4 separate regions of the Homo sapiens genome follow, and all the other regions are linked to region 1. Evidence: promoter capture Hi-C in human tissues and cell types (Jung and others, 2019). All regions are on one chromosome and are shown on one strand. Each heading gives the region's core, a stretch centred on a gene start or on the middle of the fragment in contact. The rest is flanking DNA. Distances are from core to core; before and after follow the strand shown.

Region 1 (2,879 bases), core at 198-2,697:
CTCTTGGATAAGCCAATCTCATCCCCCTTCGACACTCCTCACTGAGGCACGCTTTGTAAGGGACATACTTAGGGCTCTGGGTTCGATGCCATCTCTACTACTTGGGAGCTTTGTGATGTTTGGCCAGTAGTTAAGCTTTCTCTAAGCTGGATACAATAATGCCTCACCGGGTTCCGGCGAAGATTAGACAAAGAACATGTGTAACGTGCAAACTGCCCAGTACAGAGAAGGCACCGTTCCCCACAACCCCCTTTGTTGGTTCCCATCTCCCACCACCTAGCCCCAGAACGCCCAGCACCACGCCTCTCCTGCCCTTGTCGCGGGGGATGCAGGGACTTGTAGTTTCTAAGGCCCCGAGTCGTGCTTCTCCTCGGCGCAGGCCTGCGGGCGGAAGAACTACACATCCCAGTGGGCTGTGAAAGGAAAGTGGGGCTCGGGAAATTGAGCATCCCTGCCCAGCTGCCTTCGTTTTCTGCGGCCCCGGGGCTATGCCCACCTCTGCGGGGGCTCGGACCCGCGGCAACGCCTGGGAGGGCGCGAGCGAGCAGAAGCCCCAGGCTCCGGCCGTCCCAGGGCCGCGCCCGCAGCTCCTCCTGGGCTGTCGGGTGGGAAGGGGGGAGGCGCAGGCGGGAGAGGAGAAGCACGCGACCCCTCCGCTGCCGAGGGGGCTCCACGGGGGAATGGAGGGAGAAATAAAGCGAGCAGCTGTAAACGTCCGTGGGGAGAAGTGGAGACCGAAAGAGCTGGGCGGCAGCAACCCAAAACCTGGCCTCCAAGGGCTTATACTCCGGGAGGGAGGCCGGGGCCGGAGGGGACCCTGACCGCTTCCTCTGCCCTTCTTTCTCGGCCCGGAAGCCGGCCGAGCCGGGCCCCGAGACCCTCGCCCGCAGCCCGGTCCCGAAGTCAGGCCGGCCTAGGGCCGCCCCACCCCATCCTGGCACCCGGCACCCCCAGCCCATTTCTCGGGCATCACCAGAGTCCCCGGGCGACGCGACCACGCGCCCAGCTGGGGAGGAGGAAGAAGGGAGGCGCAGGCCGGGGAGGGTCACCTCCGCGCCGCGGCTCCTCAGGTCCCGGGGAGTCGCCAGGAGTGGCTTGCCGGTGGCCGTGGGAATGAGCGTGTCCCGAGGCGGCAGCTGCTGCGCGGGATAAACCCGGAAGAAGCCGCGAGACGGACTGAAGTCGGCCAGGAGCGCACTGCGCGGCGGGGCCGCGGGCGCCCGACCCCATCCCTACTTGGGCGATGCCACAGGGAGCCCCGCGCCTTCCACACCCCAGGGCGCCCGCCCGAGGGGGCTGGGGCTGGAATCTCGCTGCGCCGGTGCCCTGGCTTCGCGGGCGAGGAGGAGGAGGAGCAGGAGGAGGAGCCGCGGGTGAGGCGCGAGGCCACCGCCCACCCGGCCCGGAGGAGGCGGACCCACTCGGAGCGCCGCGCGCGCGCCGGGCTGAGCCTTGCAAACAAGTGTCTGTGCTGTGTCCCCGCGGCCCTCCTCGCGCCGGGGCCGCTTCCTCCGGGTAGGAGGGAGCAAGGGAGCCCTCGCCGCGCGGCCCGCGAGCCGCCGCCGCCCTCGGCCCGCGCATCCCCGCGCGGGGGCCGCGGATTCGACTAGGCTGCCAGGCGCAGCGACACCGGGTCGCGGTGCGAGCGGCGCCCCGGCTCTCGCCGAGAGGCTCCTGACAGAAAAACGTGCGTGGTTGTCCCCACCCCTGGGAGGGGTTGCCGGTGCCGCGCGCGGCCGCCCAGTCGCCAGCGCTCTCTCCTGGGAGGATCCGCTGCCGGAGGAAGGAGTGGACCCAACCTGGCCGCGCCGCAGAAGTGGCTCCCGAGGAAGCCGGCGCCGGGGCCGCCGCCTCGTGTCCCCTCGGGGCGCAGTGCTCGGGGGTCGGCGGGCCAGAGCCGAGGCGCGGCCGGGGAGCCGGGGGCTGCGGGGCCGAGCGGGCAGCCGCGCGAGGGGGCGGGCGCTCGGCGACCCGGGGGCCGGCCGGGCTGAGCCCCGCGCCCCGGGACGCGGGCTGGAAGCGACGGAGGAGTGCTGCCGCGGGCTGCGGACCAGCGCCGTCCCCTCACGGAGCGGGGATTCTGCTATGACAGTTGGGCTCCCCGGAGGGTTAACCTGGGTGTCCTCGGCAAAGTTGTCGCCGAGCCGGGAGCCCGTGTAGGGGCCGCGGCGCCGCGGCTCGGGGGGCGGCCGGGCGGCCGGCGGCGGTCGTGGCTCGGCGGGGCCCGCGCGGCCGGGGGGCTCCTGGGGGTGTGCGCCCCCAGCCGGCTGCCCTCGTGGATGCCTCCCGGCGGCGGCGGGCCCATGAAAGACTGCGAGTACAGCCAGATCAGCACCCACAGCTCCTCCCCCATGGAGTCGCCCCACAAGAAGAAGAAAATCGCGGCCCGGAGGAAATGGGAGGTGTTCCCGGGAAGAAACAAGTTCTTCTGTAACGGGAGGATCATGATGGCCCGGCAGACGGGCGTCTTCTACCTGACGCTCGTCCTCATCCTGGTCACTAGCGGACTCTTCTTCGCCTTCGAGTAAGTGGTGGCGACCGCTCCCCCGACGCCGCACTCCCCTGGTCTCCCCTGTCCCCCGCCCCTCCTCGGGCTGCTTTCGTTTTCTAGAAGTCTTATCTACTGTAAATTGTTATATAATGCCAGTCTGCGCTCCCTCTTTTTTCTTTTAAAGGTCTGATTGCTTTTGGGCCCCCGGAAAGAACGCCGTTCTGGGCTGGGCTTCTGGGAGCAGGGAGGGAAGGGGTCCACTTGCAAGGGGGGCCAGGCCTTGCCAATCCAGGTGGCGGATGGGACCCAGCAGGTGGGGCCGCCGGTCCCTGATCCTTGGGGCGCTCTCTACCGAGTTTGGGGACCCAGCAAATCAGCCCAGATGTAG
Region 2 (2,879 bases), core at 250-2,749, 460 kb after region 1:
CTGATGCTGCTGGTCTAGGGACCTAACTTCCAGAACCACTATTGTGAGGGATGGAAAAATAAAAGAAAGAACTTGGGTTCTGTCCTTGGTTGGTCCCTAAGATCTGTGAGGCCGTAAATTGGGTGGCTGCACTAGCATGCCGTGTGCAGTGAACACTTGTGTCTTGCTTAAAGGATTATTTTATCTAACTGGGTTCATATGATGCAGAAAATCACAGATCCGTAAAATATTCTCAGAAGCTATTTAGTTTCTCGCCAACTTGTAGTGTTGTCAGTAACTTTTCAGTTCTTTTGATTGATCGTTGGTATTATATGCAAAATGTCTCAACACTGTTACAATCTCACATTACCATGGAGGCTGGTTACTACTCTTCCTATTGCCTTTTAAGTTAGCCAGAAAACATGCGATACAGTTTTGTGTGTTATTAAAACAGTAATCAGTCCAGATTTATTTGCATTGTATAATATGTTCCTACCGTGATTATATAATGAAAATAACTTTTAATTCACTAGGAGAGAAGAATCCTGTTCTTAAATTACTTATAAGTCAGATAATACATGCCTTTGTGTAAATCCAGTTTTTAATGTTATTTGTGTGGTAAGTACCCATACCTAATTTTGATGAATTTGAATTTCAGCGGCTTCATTTTTCCTGTTTGCCCACTTAGAAGCTTTAAGGAAGTAAAGAAACAAATGTTTGTCAAAGCTAGAAAAAAGAATGTAGTCCCCAAACTAGGTAAATCTACCTCTGAATAATCAAATCCACCCATGTATTATTATAGGACCCATATGCATGAAGGCATGGGCATGCTGTCTGTGTTCATATGACCTGTCTCTGCAGTCAGTAAGAAGTAACGGGTGTCTAAATAAGAGAAGGGCAGCAGATCGTGAAGCCGTCGTTGGCATTTAAACAAGGTGGCAACTGAACTGCACTGTTCAGTTTCTTGTGGGTTCCGTGAACAGCATATGCTGTACCATTAATTATGGAAGGAATACATGTAATTGTTGGCTGTGGTTAACATTAGAATATTATTATGCATGAACATCAAGGGATATTGACAGAAATATTCAGTATGCTACATTGCTTCCAAAAATCAAATTTTGTTTGTTTTTTTGAGACAGAACCTCACCCTGTTGCCCAGGCTGGAGTACAGTAGCAGCTCACTGCAGCCCCAATTTCCCGGGCTCGAACAATCTTTCCACCTCAGCCTCCCAAGTAGCTGGGACTACAGGCATGCATCACCATGCCTGGCTAATTTTTGTATTTTTTATAGAGATGGTGTTTTGCCATGTTGCCCAGGCTGGTCTTGAACTCCTGGGCTCAAGCAGTCTGCCCACCTCAGCCTCCCAAAGTGCTAGGGTTACAGGCATGAACCACTGTGCTCGACCAATAATTTTTTTTTTTTTTATTCAACAGTCTCTCTCTAGAATTTATACTGTAAGTGAAAATGCATGTATATTTTTCTATCCAGAGAATTTACAGTCTAATGGAGAACACAGACACTTAGATATCTTCCATTAGGTGTACGGTTGCTGTGGTAAAAGTATGTATACATAGTGTACAGTGAGATAGCTCAGTATTTGGAGTCAGAAATGAGACCCTCTGACCTGTTTCCCTCCATTTAGCCATTGGAAACTTAAGAGTAAAAATAAATGTATATCAATAAAGAGCCATAGTGTGAAAATTTTATGTAGAAGTGCTAAATATTCTGACATTATGTTACTCATGATGTAGAAGAGGATCATTTCTCTAGTTTAGGGAATGGTGTTAAATACTTGAAGGCATGTTTAGTTTGAGGTCTCATTTAAAGAGCTCCTATTTTAGTGACTGACCTTGCAGGACAGAAAGTACATTTTAGAGAAGTGTAAATGTCCACTTTCCCTGGTTGTACTCTAAAATTTTATCTGGCACTGGTTAAACTAAGCCACTCTTAGGAACCAGTGAACATTCGAGGCAAGTAGTCTGTGCCCAGGCTTGTTCTAAATCCTTTGTGGCCGAGGACATAGCGTCTTGGAATGGTTAAAATGGATCTGCTCCTTTTGATTTCCAGGTAAGCTGTTGTTTGATGTGTTTTGTTTACCTGGTTTGCAATACCCAGAGCTTATTCTAGAGAAGGGATTCCCAGCTGGTGAATTGTCAGGGGATCTTTAACTCTTTAAAATGTATATAGATTCGGTTAATAAAATACAGGTTTACTTAAAAACGCTGGACTTCATAGTACCTTTTTGGTGTTAGGTATCAATGAATTGTCCTTGTGTATAATTACTGTTATATGTGTGTGGGGATGTATATATGTAATGAATTAATGTTGAGGTCATTGGCATTCCTCTGTGATTCATTATAGCTGTTACATAAAAGCCTATTTCCCCTATTAGTGTTTTGTTTCTCTTGAATTTTATATTTAGAATAAAAGAGAAATTATGTCTTTTATTAGAGATGCAATGAATGAATAAAATTAGTTCTACCTGATTATGAAGCATATGTATTTTCATGTAATGGTGATATAGCATAGAGATTAGGAGCCTGGGTTCAAATCCCAGTCCAGTTATTAATACATTACTTTGAAAAGTTACTTACTGCTTCACTTTCCTTATCTGTAAAATACAAATAATTGAATGGATTCAGGTGTGAATTCCATTGCACAGTCCAAGTGGGGGAAAAATTATAATTTTGCTTTTCTGTAATAATTTACAACAAATTACATCCCCGTCCTGCTGGGGAAGCAGACCTATAATATTTTAGTTCCCAGGCCACCGCCTCTTGCCCAGGGTGAAGCATAATTTGAGGGTGGGGATGGTAACCTAGTGCCATGGCCTTGAAGGTGTGACCCCATCTTGCCCTCCAGTCTCCTCTTTAGGCCTTTCCTCCTGCCCCTCAGT
Region 3 (2,879 bases), core at 194-2,693, 440 kb after region 1:
CTAGCAAAATGTCCTATATCCACTGTTACTTCTTTGTGCCCAATCACTGAATGCCAGTACGTCTCCAAGGACTCACGCCAGCCTGTCCTTAACAGGTCAAAGAATTAAAACAATATCCTAGGGCAAAGTTTCATGAGACACCAGGGATCCTACAGGCTGGGACTTCATTTGGGAAGCCAACTGGTGAGCCAATCTTCTCTTGCTGCCCTCACCTCACAGCTCAGTCCTTCTGGGAGTCGGAACTACCCAAACTCAGCAAACAGTCTAGTATAGAACCTTGAGCAAACGGTTCCTGTTCCAGCCTAACACCGCCTGCTGCTGCCACCTCTGCCATCCATGCAGCCTCCCTAGCCTCCAGTCTCTCTCTGCCCATGCCAACTGTCCCTTCCTGGACTGCTCAGGTCCTAGCAGTCAGATTTCTGCTCAATTTCTAGTTCTGGACACTATGTCCCGTTACTGTTTACGGCTCTGTGTCTCCCAGACGATGGAGAAAGAAATGTGACTTAGTCAAAATGGAACAAAAATGAAAACCAACCAATCAGCTAACCAACTAAAACAAACATAATTTTAAAACCATACACTTTTCATACATACATTCAGCTAGTCTAATGCCAAGGGGAAACCTTATAGGAAAAAACCTCTCCTGCTTCTCTTTATTCCTATAAAGATTCTTCAGAGCACTTATAAAAGCACCTGGCACATTAGACATTTATTTGTAGTTTATTGACTTCCCCCACCCTCTACAGATTGTTAAGTTCTAAGAGAGCAGGGACTTTTGTCTCCCTCACCTGTAACAGCATCCAGTCCAAGGTGAGGACGTCATACGTTTATTAGGATTGGAATGGCACCAGCTGCACTCCTTTCCACGTTTATTTTCAAGGTCACCCCAAGGTTTTCTTTAACCTCATTAAATTCATGCCCTAAAGTGAGAGGAGGTATCCCCTTGTGCCAGACCCAGGCTGACTCTGTATTGTTACACATTATTCTCATCCTCCGATCCTTACATTAGGTGACCATCACACATTTTCACTCCGTTCCACATTAGTTCCCATAGTTGCACTTTCCCATGCTAGTTTCCCATTAGTTGACCAAGCATTTAGTTGGGCTCTGAGCTCTTAAAAACCAAAGGAGAATCTAATTTTGAATAAAAACACCTGGCCATACTGAACAAACGCAGGGAAGAGGTGGTGGTCATTATTTTCCTGTCCCCCCAGCTGTGTGGCTGGACGAAGCTTCCTGTGAATCCTAATCACTTTACCTCCTGTGGCATGATTCAAAAAAAAAAAAAAAAAAAGCAGCTAGAGTACAAAGCCTAAACAGAGTGGCTCTGTTGCTCTGCCTCCAGGTCTTTTTCTTTTGAAAGTGCAATCTAGTAATAACCAAACGCAGTCTGCAAATGCAAATCCAATTGCTTAACTAATTGTGTTCTCACCCCTGGAGTAATGGAAGTTCATGCTGTAGAAGAAAATCTGAACTTAGCATGGCCCAGGGTTCTGGGTTCTGGGTTCTAAAGGCAGGCCTGCGTAGAGAATCAACTCTAAGGAAGCTCGCTCAAAGGACGGAGGTGGACAGAAGAGAGATATGCATGGTTGATCAAGTGGGAGCAGAAGACAAACGCCACCACCGGGTGCAGTGGCTCACGACTGTAATCCCAGCACTTTGGGAGGCTGAGGCAGACGGATCACTTAGGATAAGGAGTTTGAGACCAGCCTGGCCAACGTGGCAAAACCCTGTCTCTACTAAAAATAAAAAATAAAAAATAAAAAAAAACTTAGCCAGGCATGGTGGCAGGTGCCCGTAATCCCAGCTACTGCGGAGGCTGAGGCAGGAGAATCACTTGAACCTGGGAGGCGGAGGCTGCAGTGAGCCGAGATTGGGCCACTGCACTCCAGCCTGGGTGACAGAACAAGACCCAGTCTCTCTCTCTATATACAAATATATTCTATGAAAGTGGGTCTCCTCTATAACATTCATGAAGTAATGTTGATTTTGACTGACGTATATAAAAATAAAACTCCTAAGTTTAGCAGTATTTACTGGAGATATACTACCCAATTCATTACTAAAAATGTGAAAAAGATTTTAGTTATGTTCAAGATCCCTTCGGTGTGGCTTATTGTGAAAGTGCACATGTTTATCTCTTTTTTTTTTTTTTTTTTTTTGAGTCGGAGTCTTGCCCAGGCTGGAGTGCAGTGGCTCGATCTCGGCCCACTGCAACCTCCGCCTTCCGGGTTCAAGTGATTCTCCTGCCTCAGCCTCCTGAGTAGCTGGGACTACAGGCGCGTGCCACCATGCCCAGCTAATTTTTGTATTTTTAGTAGAGACGGGGTTTCACCATGTTGGCCAGGATGGTTTCGATCTCTTCACCTCGTGACCCGCCCGCCGCAGCCTCCCAAAGTGCTGGGATTACAGGCGTGAGCCACAGCGCCCGGCCATGTTTATCTCTGTTTATGTACTTTTTCATTTGTTTTTCACAGTCTTGCTCTTTTTAAAACAACAACAACAACAAAAAACTTCTAGAAATGAGGTCTCACTATGTTGCCCAGGCTGGTGTTGAACACCTGGGCTTAAGCAATCCTTCCACCTTAGCCCTCCACCATTACTTCTAAAAAATAAAACCAGGGTTATGAAATTGTTCTGGTGGGAAAAGCTTGAAGTCTCTAGTCTTCTTGCTTTCATGGTGCTGGGTGCCCAGGATGACTATTTGCATAGGATTTGCCAGATGAGCATGTGGAAAGGCCTGTCTTCACAGGTGTGCCCCTAACTTTGCACCTTCCTATCAAGGGATGCATTGTTGAACGGCTGCAGAGAGAGCTGTACCCAGCCTTCACATTTAAAAGAATATGGAAAACTCATTACTTATGACATTGCCTGAGTTC
Region 4 (2,879 bases), core at 98-2,597, 340 kb after region 1:
TTCATCTGAGAGAAAAGCTCAAATTACATTAAACTCATGCGTAATTTGATGGTGTGCAAACCAAGGAATGAAGAAATCTTGCAACACAGTTTTGTTTTCCAGGGCTGAGTTTCCCAAACAGTGAATTAGAGCAACCCTCATGACGAAATTGGTCAGCCCTGGAATCCCAGCTGATCTGACCCAGGCTCTGCAGGGAGAAGCCTGGCCTCGGAGCAGCAGGGGCGAGGCTCTTTTCTTGCAGCCTGGAAAATAGCCCCACCCAGTCAAAGAACTAGTGAGCCATTTCCCCAAAAAAGGATCCCAGGCTCTCCCCAGTCAGAAGCTTAACTGAAGCCAGAGCTGGGTGGACCCTCGCCCACCAGGAATAGCGGCTATAATGACAAGGGTCATTGTGTGTTTTGCTGCTTAATGAAGCAGAGACATTCCTCAGGCATTTTGTCCTGGACACAGGTAGGAAGGAGGGAAGGCAAGGTAAGAAGAAGGTGGCTAAGGCTGCCTCCAACCCAGACACTAGGAAACATGGGGGAAGAGAGCAGGGGACCCAAATGTTTAAAAAACCATCATGCCGGCCATCACGTTTTAAGCAACTACTTAAGGCCAGGGCTGTCTTAGGTTCTTTTTTCATTTATAGTCACAATAGCCCTAGGTCCACTGGATGGACAAGAAAGCTGTGGCTGCAAGACTGATGCTGCTTGCCCAGGTCTCACACCTGGAGTGGCAGGGCTGGGCTCATGTTGAGGCAGCCACGTTCTTCCTGTGGCACTGGGAGGCGAGCCGTTGTCTGCTACGGGGAGACCAGCAAGAGAGAAGTGGTCAAGGTCTTTTCACAAGGAGGGAGGGATGCTTTTAGCATGAGCGATTTTACTTTGAAAATGTTCAAGCTTATATGGTTTTCTAGGGAGGTGTTTTGTTTTGTTTTTTTCTTAGTGCATTACATTCTAAATTCAATGCCCTGGAAGATACTGAATAGATGGGACAAAATCCATTAGGCTGGATGATTTATGGCTTTTCAGCATTTAGCAGGAGTGGCTTTCAATGTGAAATTGGTTGCGTGCAGCAAACCATTTTAGAAATTTGTCTCACGTTGCCCATAAGTGATTCATGCCATGCTTCCCATGCCTCTTTTTGGGAAAAGGGGAAACAATATCAACACAAAGCAAATTCAGTGTCCAGTACCTCTGTCCTTTGCGAACCCCTGCTCAGCAATCCCATGCCCGTCTGTCATCTCCGCACTTGCTGGGCTGCATTTTACTGGCCAAACAGCAATGGCTGTGACACCTGATCCATCTAGCCAGCGTTCGTCCCTTGGTTTTTTTGGTGTTTGTTTGTTTGTTTTGAGACAGGGTCTTGCTCTGTCACCGAGGCTGGAGTGCAGTGGTGCGATCATAGCTCACTGAAGCCGCAAACTCCTGGCTCAACAATCCTCCCATCTCAGTCCCCCAAGTAGCTGGGACTACAAGCATGCACCACCACACCAGCTAATTTTCATTTTTTGTAGAGATGAGGGTCTGGCTGTATTCCCCAGCCTGGTCTAGAACTCTTGGGCCTCAGACTCCCAAAGTGCTGCTATTACAAGTGTGATCCACCCCACCCAGCCTAGCTAAGTTACTCTTTATCATTCCTGCTCCTTTAAGTGAAAGAAGCTTGTGCTCGGCTGGCCCGCCCTGCTCGGGTCAGAGTGCATGCCTGCTCTACCTCTCTTCCAGCCTGAGGAGGGAGAAGTACCCCCTTCTCCCACACCACAGTGCCCACCCCCTGCTCAGAGCCATGGCTCCACCCTTATTTTATTTACTGCCTGGTGCTCACTAGGTAGGAAGCATCCAGAAGGAAACCAGGTTGTAAGGAACAGTCTTGCCTCTGCAGCTCCTAACACCAAGGTCTTACGCACAGGAAGTGCTCCATAAATGTTTTCTTGAAAAAGTAGGTCACGTGCAAGGAACTGAGGCTGAGCCGGGCGTGTTTAAGGATGGGCCTTCAAAGCATAGCTATAGAAATGCCACTCAGGTTTGGCATGAGCCTCTTATTTTTTTCAAAGTCTTTTTTAGTTTTATTAAATGTTTTATTTTTATGGATTTAGGGGTACAAATGCAGTTGTTTTACATGAATATATTGCACAGTGGTGAAATCGGGGCTTTCAGTATGCTCATTACCCAAATAGTGTACAATGAACCCAAGAGGTGATCCCTCACCCCTCCCACCTGCCCACCATTTGGAGTCTCCAGTGTCTATTATTTCCCTCTGTATGTCTGGGGGTACCTACATATAAGTAAGAAAGTGAAGTTTTGGATTTTCTGTTTCTGGGCCATTTCACTAAGGATAATGGCCCCCAGTTCTATCCATGTTGCTGCAAAAGACAATATTGCATTCTTTTTTATGGCTGAGTTGTATTCCATGATGTATGTATGTACCACTTTTTAATCCAATCATCTGGTGATGGGCACTTGGGTTGATTCCAGGACTTCGCTATTGTGAATACTGCTACAGCTGACAGTCCAGGTGTCTTTTTTATATAATGATTTATTTTCCTTCAGGTATATAACAACCAGTAGTAGGATTGCCAGATCCAAGGGTAGTTCTATTTTTCCTTCTTTGAGAACTCTCCAATTTTCCACAGAGGTTGTACTAACTTCCATTCTCACCAACAGTGTATGAGCGTTTCATTTTTCCCACATCCTTTGGGGTCCTCTTTGAGCTCAGATCCTATATCCCTCTTTCTCTATGCATTCTAAAAAGACACCATGGCAAGAAACATATAACAGGCTTTATCAGCATAGAGAAATTATCCATCTATGGTGAGTGTAGAAGTCTTGAATTAAAAAATAAAAGCTAGATTGGTTTGGTGTAATTCATCCTAGACATGTGTGGCCAACTACTTTACG

The links. The method cuts DNA at HindIII sites, captures the fragments that hold promoters and counts their contacts. A contact is called where the count stands out against the background at its distance.
Region 2: a contact is called between a fragment that was not itself captured here and the fragment with the promoter of ZDHHC14 in region 1, in 2 of the 25 tissues and cell types used here (dorsolateral prefrontal cortex and mesenchymal stem cells).
Region 3: a fragment that was not itself captured here is called in contact with the fragment with the promoter of ZDHHC14 in region 1 in 1 of the 25 tissues and cell types used here (mesenchymal stem cells).
Region 4: a fragment that was not itself captured here is called in contact with the fragment with the promoter of ZDHHC14 in region 1 in 1 of the 25 tissues and cell types used here (dorsolateral prefrontal cortex).

Annotation. Positions count from the first base shown.
Region 1 is chr6:157,379,743-157,382,621 of GRCh38, forward strand. ZDHHC14 (zDHHC palmitoyltransferase 14) reads left to right here and starts at 1,448. Exons shown (of 9, transcript NM_024630.3): 1 at 1,448-2,524. The coding sequence starts at 2,280. It overlaps LOC124901446, which reads right to left and starts at 1,349. Exons shown (of 1, transcript XM_047419644.1): 1 at 1-1,349. The coding sequence starts at 959. The coding sequence ends at 69. RefSeq lists enhancers at 1-384, 996-1,607, 2,366-2,505 and silencers at 586-665, 826-1,715, 2,226-2,275. The HindIII fragment of the contact is 9,861 bases long and covers 1-2,879 here.
Region 2 is chr6:157,836,925-157,839,803 of GRCh38, forward strand. All of the region lies in intron 1 of SNX9 (sorting nexin 9), which reads left to right. Among named protein-coding and RNA genes, the nearest start is that of SNX9, 15 kb to the left of the region's middle. The HindIII fragment of the contact is 7,828 bases long and covers 1-2,879 here.
Region 3 is chr6:157,818,541-157,821,419 of GRCh38, forward strand. No RefSeq gene overlaps it. Among named protein-coding and RNA genes, the nearest start is that of SNX9, 3.3 kb to the right of the region's middle. The HindIII fragment of the contact is 3,766 bases long and covers 1-2,879 here.
Region 4 is chr6:157,715,754-157,718,632 of GRCh38, forward strand. No RefSeq gene overlaps it. Among named protein-coding and RNA genes, the nearest start is that of SNX9, 110 kb to the right of the region's middle. The HindIII fragment of the contact is 5,901 bases long and covers 1-2,879 here.